2 separate regions of the Homo sapiens genome follow, and region 2 is linked to region 1. Evidence: promoter capture Hi-C in human tissues and cell types (Jung and others, 2019). All regions are on one chromosome and are shown on one strand. Each heading gives the region's core, a stretch centred on a gene start or on the middle of the fragment in contact. The rest is flanking DNA. Distances are from core to core; before and after follow the strand shown.

Region 1 (5,498 bases), core at 2,285-4,784:
GAGATCAAGACCATCCTGGCTAACACAGTGAAACCCCGTCTCTACTAAAAATACAAAAAAATTAGCCGGGCGTGGTGGCGGGCACCTGTAGTCCCAGCTACTCAGGAGGCTAAGGAAGGAGAATGGTGTGAACCCGGGAGGTGGAGCTTGCAGTGAGCTGAAAAAAAAAAAAAAAAAGGCTTACTAGCTGGGCCCTGTGGCTCCTGCCTGTAATCCTAGCACTTTGGGAGGCTCAGGTGGGAGGATCCCTTGAGCCCAGGAGTCTGAGACCAGCCTAGGCACCACGGTAAGACCCCGTCTCAAAAACGCCACCACCACCTTTAATTAAGCGAATTTTTTAAAAATGAAGGTTTACCAAACCAAGTGTTGGCCAGGATACAGAGAAACAGAAACTTTCACTCACTGTTAGTGGCTTAATAAAAAGGTAAACATGCACCTGCCATATGACACAGTCATTCTATTCCTAGGTGTTTACTTAAGAGAAATGAAAGCATATGTCCACACAAAGATGAGCAAAAATGTTCAGAGCAGTTTTATTTGCAATAGCCCCCAAACTGGAAACAACCCAAATGTGCATCAACAGCTGAATGGAAAAACAAATTGTGTGGTGTTTCCATACAATGAAATACTACTCAGCAATAAAAAGCAATGAACTGTTAATAAATGCAACAACATGGATAAATCTTAAAATAATTATGCGGCGAGAAGCCAATGCCAAAAAAAATCTATACTGAGGCTGGGCGCGGTGGCTCACACCTGTAATTCCAGCAGTTTGGGAGGCCGAGGCAGATGGATCACTTGAGGCCAGGAGTTTGAAACCAGCCTGGTGAATATGGTGAAACCCCATCTCTACTAAAAATACAAAAATTAGCTGGGTGTGGTGGCAGGCACCTGTAATCCCAGCTACTTGGGAGGCTGAGACAGGAGAATCACTTGAACCCAGGAGGCAGAGGTTGCAGTGAGCTAAGATCATACCACTGCACTCCAGTCTGGGCAACAAAGTGAGACTCCTCTCAAAAAAAGAAAAAAAGGTAATGGATACCTCCAGATGGATACATTATCTTGATTTTGGGAATGATTTCACATAACAAATTATCGAAATACTTCACATTATACATTATAAATATATGTAGTTGGCCGGGCGCGGTGGCTCACACCTGTAATCCCAGCACTTTGGGAGGCTGAGGTGGGCGGATCACAAGGTCAGGAGATCGAGACCATCCTGGCCAACACGGTGAAACCCCATCTCTACTAAAAAAAAAAATACAAAAAATTAGCCAGGCATGGTGGCGGGTGCCTGTAGTCCCAGCTACTTGAGAGGCTGAGGCAGGAGAATGGTGTGAACCTCGAAGTGGAGGTCGCAGTGAGCTGAGGTAGCGCCACTGCACTCCAGCCTGTGCGACAGAGCGAGACTCCGTCTCAAAAATAAATAAATAAATAAATGTAGTTGATTTTGTCACTTATACCTCAATAAAACTATTACAGAAGTTTCCTAGGAGGTGGCACCACCACCGGGCTCTGCCCCAGCTTGTGAGCTCCTGTGGATCTGGGTCTGTCCCTTGCAGTCAGGTGGGTGGGCTTAGTAGGTAGGACTGACGTCATTTCCTTCCACTGTCCGCACACGTGGCACGTGTCCTTCAAACATGCCCAGCCACTTCCCTCCTCTACCCCCAGGTCTTCAAGGGATTGGGGTCTCCTTATTGTTCAGGTTTTAGCAAGAATGTCAAGGGCCTTCACCGAGCACCACATCTAAATTACTTCCTACTCCTCACCCTGTCCCAAAATCACTTTCTGTATTTCCCTGGTTTGTTTTCTTCACTGTACGTATCAGAATTAGGGTTTTTTTTTTTTTTTTTTTGAGACAGAGTCTCGCTCTGTCACCCAGGCTGGAGTACAGTGGTGTGATCTCGGCTAACTGCAACCTCTGCCTCCTGGGTTCAAGCGATTCTCCTGCCTCAGCCTCCCAAGTAGCTAGGATTACAGGCATACACCACCATGCCCGGCTAATTTTGTATTTTGAGAAGAGATGGTGTTTCTCCATGTTGGTCACGCTGGTCTCAAACTCCCAACCTCAGGTGATTTGCCTGCCTCGGCCTCCCAAGGTGCTGGGATTACAGGCGTGAGCCACTGCACCCGGCCAATTTTTTGTATTTTTATTAGAGACAGGGTTTCACCATGTTAGCCAGGATGATCTCGATCTCCTGACCTCATGATCCGCCTGCCTCAGCCTCCCAAAGTGCTGGGATTACAGGCGTGAGCCACCGTGCCCGGCCTGGATATTCTTATTAATTTAATCATTCCTTTTTTTTTTTTTTGAGATGGAGTTTCGCTCTTGTTGCCCAGGTTGGAGTGCAGTGGCACAATCTTCGCTCATTGCAACCTCTGCCTCCCAGGTTCAAGCAATTCTCCTGCCTCAGACTCCTGAGTAGCTGAGATTACAGGCACCCGCCACCACACCCGGCTAATTTTTTCTATTTTTAGTAGACACGGAGTTTCACCATGTTGGTCAGGCAGTTCTCGAGCTTCTGACTTCAGGTGATCCACCCACCTTCCCCTCCCAAAGTGCTGGGATTTACAGGCATGAAACATCGCGCCTGGCCCTCTTTTTTTTTTTTTTTTTTTTAAACACAGGGTCTCTATCGCCCATGCTGGAGTGCAGTGGCACAATCACTGCTCACTGCAGCTTTCACCTCTTGGGCTCAGGTGATCCTCCCACCTCAGCCTCTTGAGTAGCTGGGACTACAGTCGCATGCCACCACGCCCAGCTAATTTGTTTTTGTAGAGATGGGGTCTTGCCATGTTGGCTAGTCTGCCCTTTCATTTTCATCATCTATCCTATTATCTTCCTCCCTCCTCAGCTGGCGCCCTACTGAGATCCCTATCACTGGTGGTGCACCCATCCCATAGGTGCTGTAGGAGCTGGCTGGTAACTCTCAGCTGCCCTGGCCAATAACTGACATGTAGAAGGAGGGTACAAAAGACGGGCTCCCTTGCTTTAAGGAGGCCTAACTGTGGTGCCATTTGTGCTCAGAGTTCCCCATGAGAGCAAGCGGAAGCTAGTCTCCACGTGAGACCACACTCTGGCTCAGCCTTAGCCTTTTTCTCGCCCTGTCTTGCTTCCCTCACCCCCTTCTCCTGAGAGCATTTCCCCAATAATTCACTTGAACAAGAATGCTCAGCTTAGGCTCTGCTTCTAGGGAACCTGACCCATGACACGCTCTGTTAGCTTCCTGAGAGACTATCTTGTTAGTTCCCCTAGAACAAATTCCTGTCTTGGACTCTGCTTATGATCACTCCCTTCATTCCCCTGCCAAGAATGACAGCTCAGTGAGGGAATATGTTCTTCACTTCCCTAGAACTGTTCCTAGAACACAGTAGGTGCTCAATGATGCACTGAATGCATGCAGGGGAGAGCCCAGAGTCTATCTGACAGCTCAGCGGTCAGCACCCCTTCTTGTCCTGGGGTGGCCTGGCCTGGAGGCATTGTGAGTCATAGCAGGTGGACAAGAGCTGAGTGGGTCAGAGATGGGACTAGCCCTGGGACAGCAGCTCAGCAACTCCACCCCATCTTCCAGGTGAGGCACAACATACAGTGAGGACTAACGGGGAAACATCCTCCGAGAAGATACAATCTCAAGGGTGGGCCTGGATGTGGGCTTCCAGAGACCATCTCCCTGAACCAGATCTTGGGGATGGTATGTACCATCCAGCCTCTGTCCACCTATATGTGAGGGATAAGTGTATTATGAATTAACGAAGGCATAACAGAGGGAACCCTGCTCTAGTTCTTTCTCTTCTCACTGCCCATGGGCAGAAGAGGAATTAGAAACAACACATAGCTCCCTTTTTCACATAATAGAATCAGCACTTACTGGGCAGGGGTGGGGGGTGCAGAGAGAAGTGAGCAAAATGGGACTTGTCTGTTATCTGGACTTTGGACTTCCTGAGGGCACAGTTTGTTTGGAATAAAAGTCATGTTTAGTGTGCACAATCCCTGATACTTTGAGCCCTATGCATAGGTCTAGCCCATGGCACACACCCCAGGATGTCAGTGAACACACTGGACTGTGGTCTATACACGCATCTGTCTTCCAAGCTGGATTAGGAGCACCTTGAGGGCAGGCAGAGGCTGTTTCAGGTCCCCTTCCCAAGACCAGAGTCTGGCACAGAGCAGATGCTAGTTCAAGTCTATCAAATGACTGAATGATGAGGGCAATAATGCTGTTGGCTATGCTAGATATCCTCCCAGATTGCTTTCAGAATCCAGATCTAACCCCGGCTTTCTAATCCTTCAGCAGTTCCCTCTTACCCACAAAAGGAAGTCTAAGCTTCCGAGCCTGCCTGTAGGGCACCTTCACATAGTGCACTGGTCCACCTTCCCAGCTTCCTCTTCTGCTCTTCCCAGCACCAATCCTATCCAAGCTCGTGTTCACATCTGAAATATGAAAGTCCTGCCCTGCCGGGTACAGTGGCTCACACCTGTAATCCCAGCACTTTGGCGCTGAGGCGGGCAGATCACCTGAGGTCCGGAGTTCGAGACCAGCCTGGCCAATAAGGTGAAACCCCATTTCTACTAAAAATACAAAAAAAAAAAAAAAAAAAAAAAAAAGGCCAGGCGCAGTGACTCATGCCTGTAATCCGGGCACTTTGGGAGGCCGAGTTGGGTGGATCACCTGAGGTCAGGAGTTCGAGACCAGCCTGGCCAACATGGTGAAACCCCGTCTTCACTAAAAATACAAAAATCAGGTGGGGGTGATGGCAGGCGCCTGTAATCTCAGCTACTCAAGAGGCTGAGGCAGGAGAACTGCTGGAACCCGGGAGGTGGAGGTTGCAGTGAGCCAAGATCGCGCAATTGCACTCCAGCTCGGGCAACGACAGCGAGACTCAGTCTCAAAAAAAAAGAAAAAGAAAGCCCTGCTCGGCTCTTCCCTCTGCCTAGAAGTTCTCCATTTTCCATCCTCAACCCACCTGGCAAAGTCCTACTCCTCCTTTAAGTACCTACTTACTTGTCTTGCTACCATTCCCTACCCCTCACCCTTCCAGCTGCAACTCAGAACAAGGCCCTCCTCCCGTCCTTCATCTGCATATGTATCCCAGGGCCTGATCCTCAGTGGTCTTTGGGGAAGATGGTTTAGGTGAGACTGCTGCCTGTGCAGCGTGGAACGACGGGCTCCTCGGTGGCCAGCAGCTGGTGAGACACAGCCGCAGCCGTAGCTGCAGGGCTAAGACATGTCCGCCGGCCTCGCGGTTTGAGAGGCGGCCTGTACCAAGCACGCTGCTCACCCGGACTCTTGTCTCCCAGCAGCGCCCCCTGGCTCGCCTTCATCATTCTGGACATCCGGGCTCCCGAGACAAGAGCGCAGCACGAGTCGCCAGCGCTCCCGAGGCTCCCCTTCGAGCACCTGCGTGCCCTACAAGGTCCACGCCCTGGCAACCTTCGAGTGCTCGGCTACGAGCCATGCCAGCCGCCTGTGGCAGACGCTGCAGCAGTTTTGGGC
Region 2 (6,189 bases), core at 3,460-5,959, 810 kb before region 1:
CAGGCATGGTGGCTCACGCCTGTAATCCCAGCACTTTGGGAGGCCAAGGTGGGCAGATCACTTGAGGTCAGGAGTTTAAAGCCAGCCTGGCCAACATGGTGAAACCCTGCCTCTACTAAAAATACAAAAAAATTAGTCGGCGTGGTGGCAGGAGCCCGTAATCCCAGCTACTCGGGAGGCTGAAGCAGGAGAATGGCTGGAACCCAGGAGGCGGAGGTTGCAGTGGGCCGAGATCGCGCCACCGCACTCCAAGTGAGCCTTCATCTCAGAAAAAAAGAAGAAAACAGATTCAAAGTCACTAACTCCATACTATCTCAAATATACACTTGTAGGGCCTCCACTCTATTCTCCACAGGGATGCCAAAGTGACCTCCAAATCGCCTTGCTCCTCTGCTAACAATATTTTGGCTCTCTCTTCTGCTGTCAGATAAGGCTATACACTTCCCTTTTAGCTTAGCAAGGCTGGTCCTTCAAAATCTAGACCAGACACACCTTTGCAGGCTCATCTCGAGTCATTCCCACTGTTCCAGTAACACCTTATCACTAGCCTTACCCTAACACTTGACACCTCAGTGCACCCACACTTCCTTCTGTTTGACATGACTCCCTCTCCCCAGTTTGGCAAATTCCTATTCAGTGTTATTTTCCGTAAACTGCCCCCACACCCTCCACAAGTTTAATCATTCTCTATTGTGTTCTCCCACAGCACTCTGTGCACCTATGAAGCCTATACACTATGAGAAGGCAAAATCGGAGTATTATTTGTCTTTGAATTCTCAGTGTTAAAACACTATGGCCAGTACATACCTTAACGTGTAACTGAAGTTACCAAGAAAATATAAATGGATGAAGGAGAGGTGAAGGACAGAGAAGAGCGAAGTGGAGACAGCCTAAATGAGTCCTCATCTTGGATCAAATAACCCCCCACCTCGCTAATTACTTATTCAAGTACCAAAATACAGTACATTCCATTATACTCTAATGTACCCCAGCTATGCATACAGTATATGTTTACAGTTTACTCAGCATTTTTTTTTTTTTTTTGAGATGGAGTTTCACTCTTTTTGCCCAGGCTGGAGTGCAATGGCGTGCTCTCGGCTCACTGCAGGCTCTGCCTCCCAGGTTCAAGCGATTCTCCTGCCTCAGTCTCCCGAGTAGCTGGGATTACAGGCATGTGCCACTGCGCCTGGCTAATTTTGTATTTTTAGTAGAGACAGGGTTTCTCCATCTTGGTCAGGCTGGTCTCGAACTCCTAACCTCAAGTGATCCGCCCGCCTCGGCCTCCCAAAGTGCTGGGATTAAAGGCATGAGCCACCGCGCCCAGTCTCAGCAATTCTTAATTTCACATACACAGCGTTTTATTAATCACACTTTTGTTATAAAATGACTGTATGAGTAATGGGTATAAAGATATCTACATATCCAAGTCTTTGGTTTTCCCAGTAAAACATACATTTTTAGCTGAGCCTATTAGGACTTTTCCAAAGTAATAAATGCTTTCAAGCAGAGCTTCCCAAGCCAGTGGACCTTGCATATGGGAATGGGTTCTAAAGGTGCTGAACATACTGATCCCTCACCCCTAACGGCCCAAAGAATACAGCTGTGAGCTGCCTTAACCATTTATTCCAATATGTCTTACATATATTATCCTTTTCTGTTGCACTATGAAAAAGGTTTATCATTTAAAGAATATAAGAAGGCAAATATAGGTACTGGAATGTCTAAGCATTCACCAAAATGCATACTTTTTTTTTTTTTTTTTGAGACGGAGTTTCACTCGTTGCCCAGGGTGAAGTGCAGTGGCGTGATCCTGGCTCACTGCAATCTCTGCCTCCCAGGTTCAAGCCATTCTCCCACCTCAGCCTACTGAATAGCTGGGATTACAGGCATGCGCCACCACACCTGGCTAATTTTGTATTTTTAGTAGAGACAGGGTTTCATCATATTGGCCAGGCTTGCCTCGAACTCCTGACCTCAGGTGATCCACCCATCTCGGCCTCCGAAAGTGCTGGGATTACAGGCGTGAGTCACCGCGCCTGGCATAAAATGCATACTTTTAAACTACATGTACAGTGGGCAAATTCCTACAACGCCTTTACACATTTGTAGTTAGGACCAAGTTCTATAAACCAACCTTATGTCTGCTCAAAAGTTTGAAATTTCCCAATAATTGTAGTTTTACTTTGCCAACAACATTTAAGCAACCTGAAAATACCTACAAATTGAACAGGCATTCAAGAGGAGCCGCTTGGGCTGCATCACCACTATCAAGACACTATGGAAATTACCTAATGATTGACTTTCAGAGAAAATCTTCAGTCTCACAAGAAAATCTGTCTTTCGTCACCGTTTTTATAAAGTGATCAAGACAAGGTCTCACTACGTTGTGACAGTTATCACAGACTTTATATATGTTACTTTATATTTTTCTGAGACAGGGTTTTGCTGGTCTCAAACACCTGGGCTCAAGCCATCCTCCTTCCTCAACCTCCCAAAGCGCTGGGATTACACGGTGAGCCACCATGCCTGGCAATTGCATCATCTTTTTTGATCATTTCGTTCAGCATCTCGTTCATCGACTGAGAAGTGACCTGAAATAACTTCCAACCATTAACATACCCTCCCTCCTCCCAAAAGAACAAACCTCTAGCGATTAGGTCGCACACTCATGCGCTCTCACACGCACACAAACCCGGTCCTTTCCCTCCTCATTACAGTACCATGGGCAAGTCACCTCCACCTAGAAAGGTCTGTCTTCTCATTAGCAGCTGTTCATGTATTTTGTTTAAAGCAAAACACCTGGAGTAGATCACAGATCTAAAGATATTAAGCAATTTTTATTCTAAATTTTACTCTAAAAGTCATCACATTCTAAACACTGTGATGGCCAGGCATGTTGGCTCATGCCTGTAATTGCAGCACTTTGGGAGGCCAAGGAAGGAAGATCGCTTGAGCCCTGGAGTCGGAGACCAGCCTGGGCAACAGAGCAAGGCTCTACAAAAAATTAAAAAATTAGCCGTGGTGGTGTCTGCCGGTAGTCCCAGCTAGTCAGGAGGGTGAGGCAAAAGGATCGCTTGAACCCAGGAGGCGAAGGCTGCAGTGAGCCGAGAACTGTGCCACTGCACTCCAGCCTGGGTGACAGAGTGAGATCCTGTCTCAAAAACAATAAATAAATTAAATAAAGACTGTGATAAATGTCTTAACAGCAATTCCCCAAAAAAGCCTTTAAACCCTTTTGATCAATGGCCCACGTCCACTCCTACAGCCTACTAATCTGTTCTAGAGTAGTAAATTCTAGTATATTGTAAAAAATACAAAGTGCTACTACACACCATTTTATTTTTCAGTTATTCATATTCACTCTCTTCCTCTTCAAAGTTAAATTCCCAGATACAAGTAGGCAAGAAGATTCAGCACTAACAATGAGACAATCCACCTGGAAAACAGGTAAGTATGGGAACTCAAATTGAAGCAGATTATCTAAAACACATCAGCTTACACAGTAACAACAAATCCAAAGAGCTCGAGCGAGATGACCATTCACAACGCTGTCAATGGCAACAACAGTTAAAAACAGAAGGCCACAGGTGTTGGTTAGCAGGCTCTTCGGGGAAGGTGAAGGAGGTAAAGAATCAAAGGAAGTTTCCAAAGAAAATAGCGATTAGTGCTGAAAAACAAAAAGGAGGGATGCAATTTGGGTTACCAGAGAAAACTGCTTGTAGAAACCAGTACAATCTCCGAATCCTTCGCAATACTATAAAATAAGCATCCTCATTGCATGCCAAGTGCTTCTTTAACCTGTAATCCACCCCGTCCTCTCCCTCAAAATCTGCGTTAAACTGAATTTTAAAAACATTTTAGGGGAGGGGGTAAGCAGTTGGTTTCCCGCTTGACAGTAATTGTGGCCACGGAGCGCGAAGCTCCACACTCCACACAGCGCGCCACCCACAGAGGCGCTTCTCAAAAGTTGCCACCCATCTTGGCCACGAGTCCCGGGACACGGACTCGCCTCCTCCGACGACGGCAGCCGGGACCGGCCGGGATCCGGGAGCCCAGCGCCGACCCTCTCCCCTCTGCGCGCCGCCGCCGCCGCCGTCAATCAACGCCCCCCTCCCAGGGACTCGGCCCGGGGGCGCGGCCCGGGGCGGGGCGCGATCGCGGCGCGTCGAAGGGGCCCCCAACAGCCGCCAGCTTGCGGAGCAGCGGGACCGCCGCCCACGAAACGAAAGTTGCCCGCGACCGAGCCCGGCCGACGGGGGGCGGTCCGTGCGCGGCCGGAGAGAGGAGCGGCGCCCCGACCGGGCCTCCGGCCTGCCTCGCTCACCTCTCGGGGTGCGCCGCCTTCCTCCGCCGCTGCCGCCTCCTCCTCCCTGTGAGTGCAGCGGGGTCTGCCCTGTGGAACCACCATACCAGTCCCGCCCGCTGCTGCAGCGCCGCCACCGCCGCCGCTCCTCTGCCGCCTTAGTCGCTGCTCTTTGTTCCCCCTCCGAGAGCCACTGCTTCGGCTGCCCGCCTCAGCCGCCCCGACGGGCCGCCACTACGCCCTCCCGCCCTCTCGGCCCCCGGCCTCGCCCTCCTCGCTGCGCCCGCCGCTGCCTTCGCCTCCGCGCCGCCGTCGCCGCCGCCACCGACGCCGCCGCCTCCTCCTCCGCGCCCCCCTCGTTTTCATTGAAAGCAAACAAGCATCATGGCGGCGGCCGCCGTCCCTCAGCCAGCGAGCGCCCGGACCGCCGCCGGCGCTCCAACATCCTGGCCGCTCATTGGGCGCCGTCGCCGGGCACAACCATCCGCCCTTCGGTGCGGGGGTCGCTCCCGGCACGCAGCTGCCCAGGCCCCGCCCCCTTACCCCCGCGCTGGAGAGCGGTGGACCGGCCCGGCGCGCTGCGGGCCCTGCCTCCCTGCCTGCCGCCCTCCATCCCTTCCTCTCCGTCCATCCTTCGTCTCCTTCTGTTCCCGCTCTCCTCGCTCCTTTCCTGCCTTGGCACTTCTGTTTTCTCCTCTCCTTAGCGCTCCTCCATTTTTCATCTACTTCTTTTTCCGCCCCAGGTTGTCCACTTTTTTTTTGTTTTTTGAGACGGTGTCTTGCTCTTTCACCCAGGCCAGAGTGCAGTGGGGCGATCTTGGCTCACTGCAAGCTCCGCCTCCCGGGTTCACACCATTCTCCTGCCTCAGCCTCCCGAGTAGCTGGGACTACAGGCGCCCGCCACCGCGCCCGGCTCATTTTTTGTATTTTTAGTAGAGACGGGGTTTCACCGTGTTAGCCAGGATGGTCTCCATCTCCTGACCTCGTGATCCGCCCACCTCCGCCTCCCAAAGTGCTGGGATGGCAGGCGTGAGCCACCGCGCCCGGCTGGGTTGTCCACTTTTATCTCCTCTTTTCCTTGATCGTCCTCCCCTTTTTTTCTCCTCTTCCTTTTCCTTAAGCCTTCGCCTGTCAATCACGTCGAAACACAGTATTTGACCGGAGCCAGTATCTTGATCTGCCTAAAGACAAGACATTCAATCGTGAACAGTCGAATATTATTCCTTCCTCAATTATACAAAGAAGAGTAAGTTAACATACCACTTCAGCCTATTAATGGTAATTCATTCCATTACATTAATGGACAGTTTTGGTGCTGGGGTCCTAGCCTGGGTAACGGACAGCAGCTGCTGTGCTCCAAGATCAAAAGGTGTTCAGGGCAAACTCTGGTGTTTGAAGGTCAGCAGAGAAATGACTGGGCTGATTCATGATGCTTACATCAAGAAATATTAGTTGACTGATGGTCAGGGCACAGAGATGAATCAGACCCCACCCAGCCCTGAGTAAGCTCACAGTCTAGGGGCAAGAATAACACCCAACAGACTTAATATTGGAGGTATATTGGTCGGGCGCGGTGGCTCACGCCTGTAATCCCAGCACTTTGGGAGGCCGAGGGGGGCAGATCACCTGAGGTCCGGAGTTGGAAAACAGCCTGACCAACATGGCGAAACTTCGTCCCTACTAAAAGTACAAAAAATTAGCCAGGTCTGGTGGCTTGCACCTGTAATCCCAGCTACTCGGGAGGCTGAGGCAGGCAGGAGAATCATTTGAACCTGGGAGGCGGAGGTTGTAGTAAGCGGAGATCGCACCATTGCACTCAGGCCTGGGCAGCAAGAGCGAAACCCTGTCTCAAAAAAAAAAAAAAAATTTGAGCTATATGTTGAAGG

Evidence for each region. Contacts are between HindIII fragments. The study calls those that stand out against the background at their distance.
Region 2: a contact is called between the fragment with the promoter of CNOT6 here and the fragment with the promoter of CBY3 in region 1, in 1 of the 25 tissues and cell types used here (dorsolateral prefrontal cortex).

What each region holds. Positions count from the first base shown.
Region 1 is chr5:179,679,070-179,684,567 of GRCh38, reverse strand. It overlaps CBY3 (chibby family member 3), which reads left to right and starts at 3,534. Exons shown (of 2, transcript NM_001164444.2): 1 at 3,534-3,695; 2 at 5,303-5,498. The coding sequence starts at 3,650. It also overlaps a transcript of CANX not described here. The HindIII fragment of the contact is 4,632 bases long and covers 654-5,285 here.
Region 2 is chr5:180,492,899-180,499,087 of GRCh38, reverse strand. It overlaps CNOT6 (CCR4-NOT transcription complex subunit 6), which reads right to left and starts at 4,709. Exons shown (of 12, transcript NM_001370472.1): 1 at 4,325-4,709. RefSeq lists silencers at 3,940-4,199, 4,230-4,329, 4,500-4,639, 4,770-4,969. The HindIII fragment of the contact is 24,631 bases long and covers 1-6,189 here.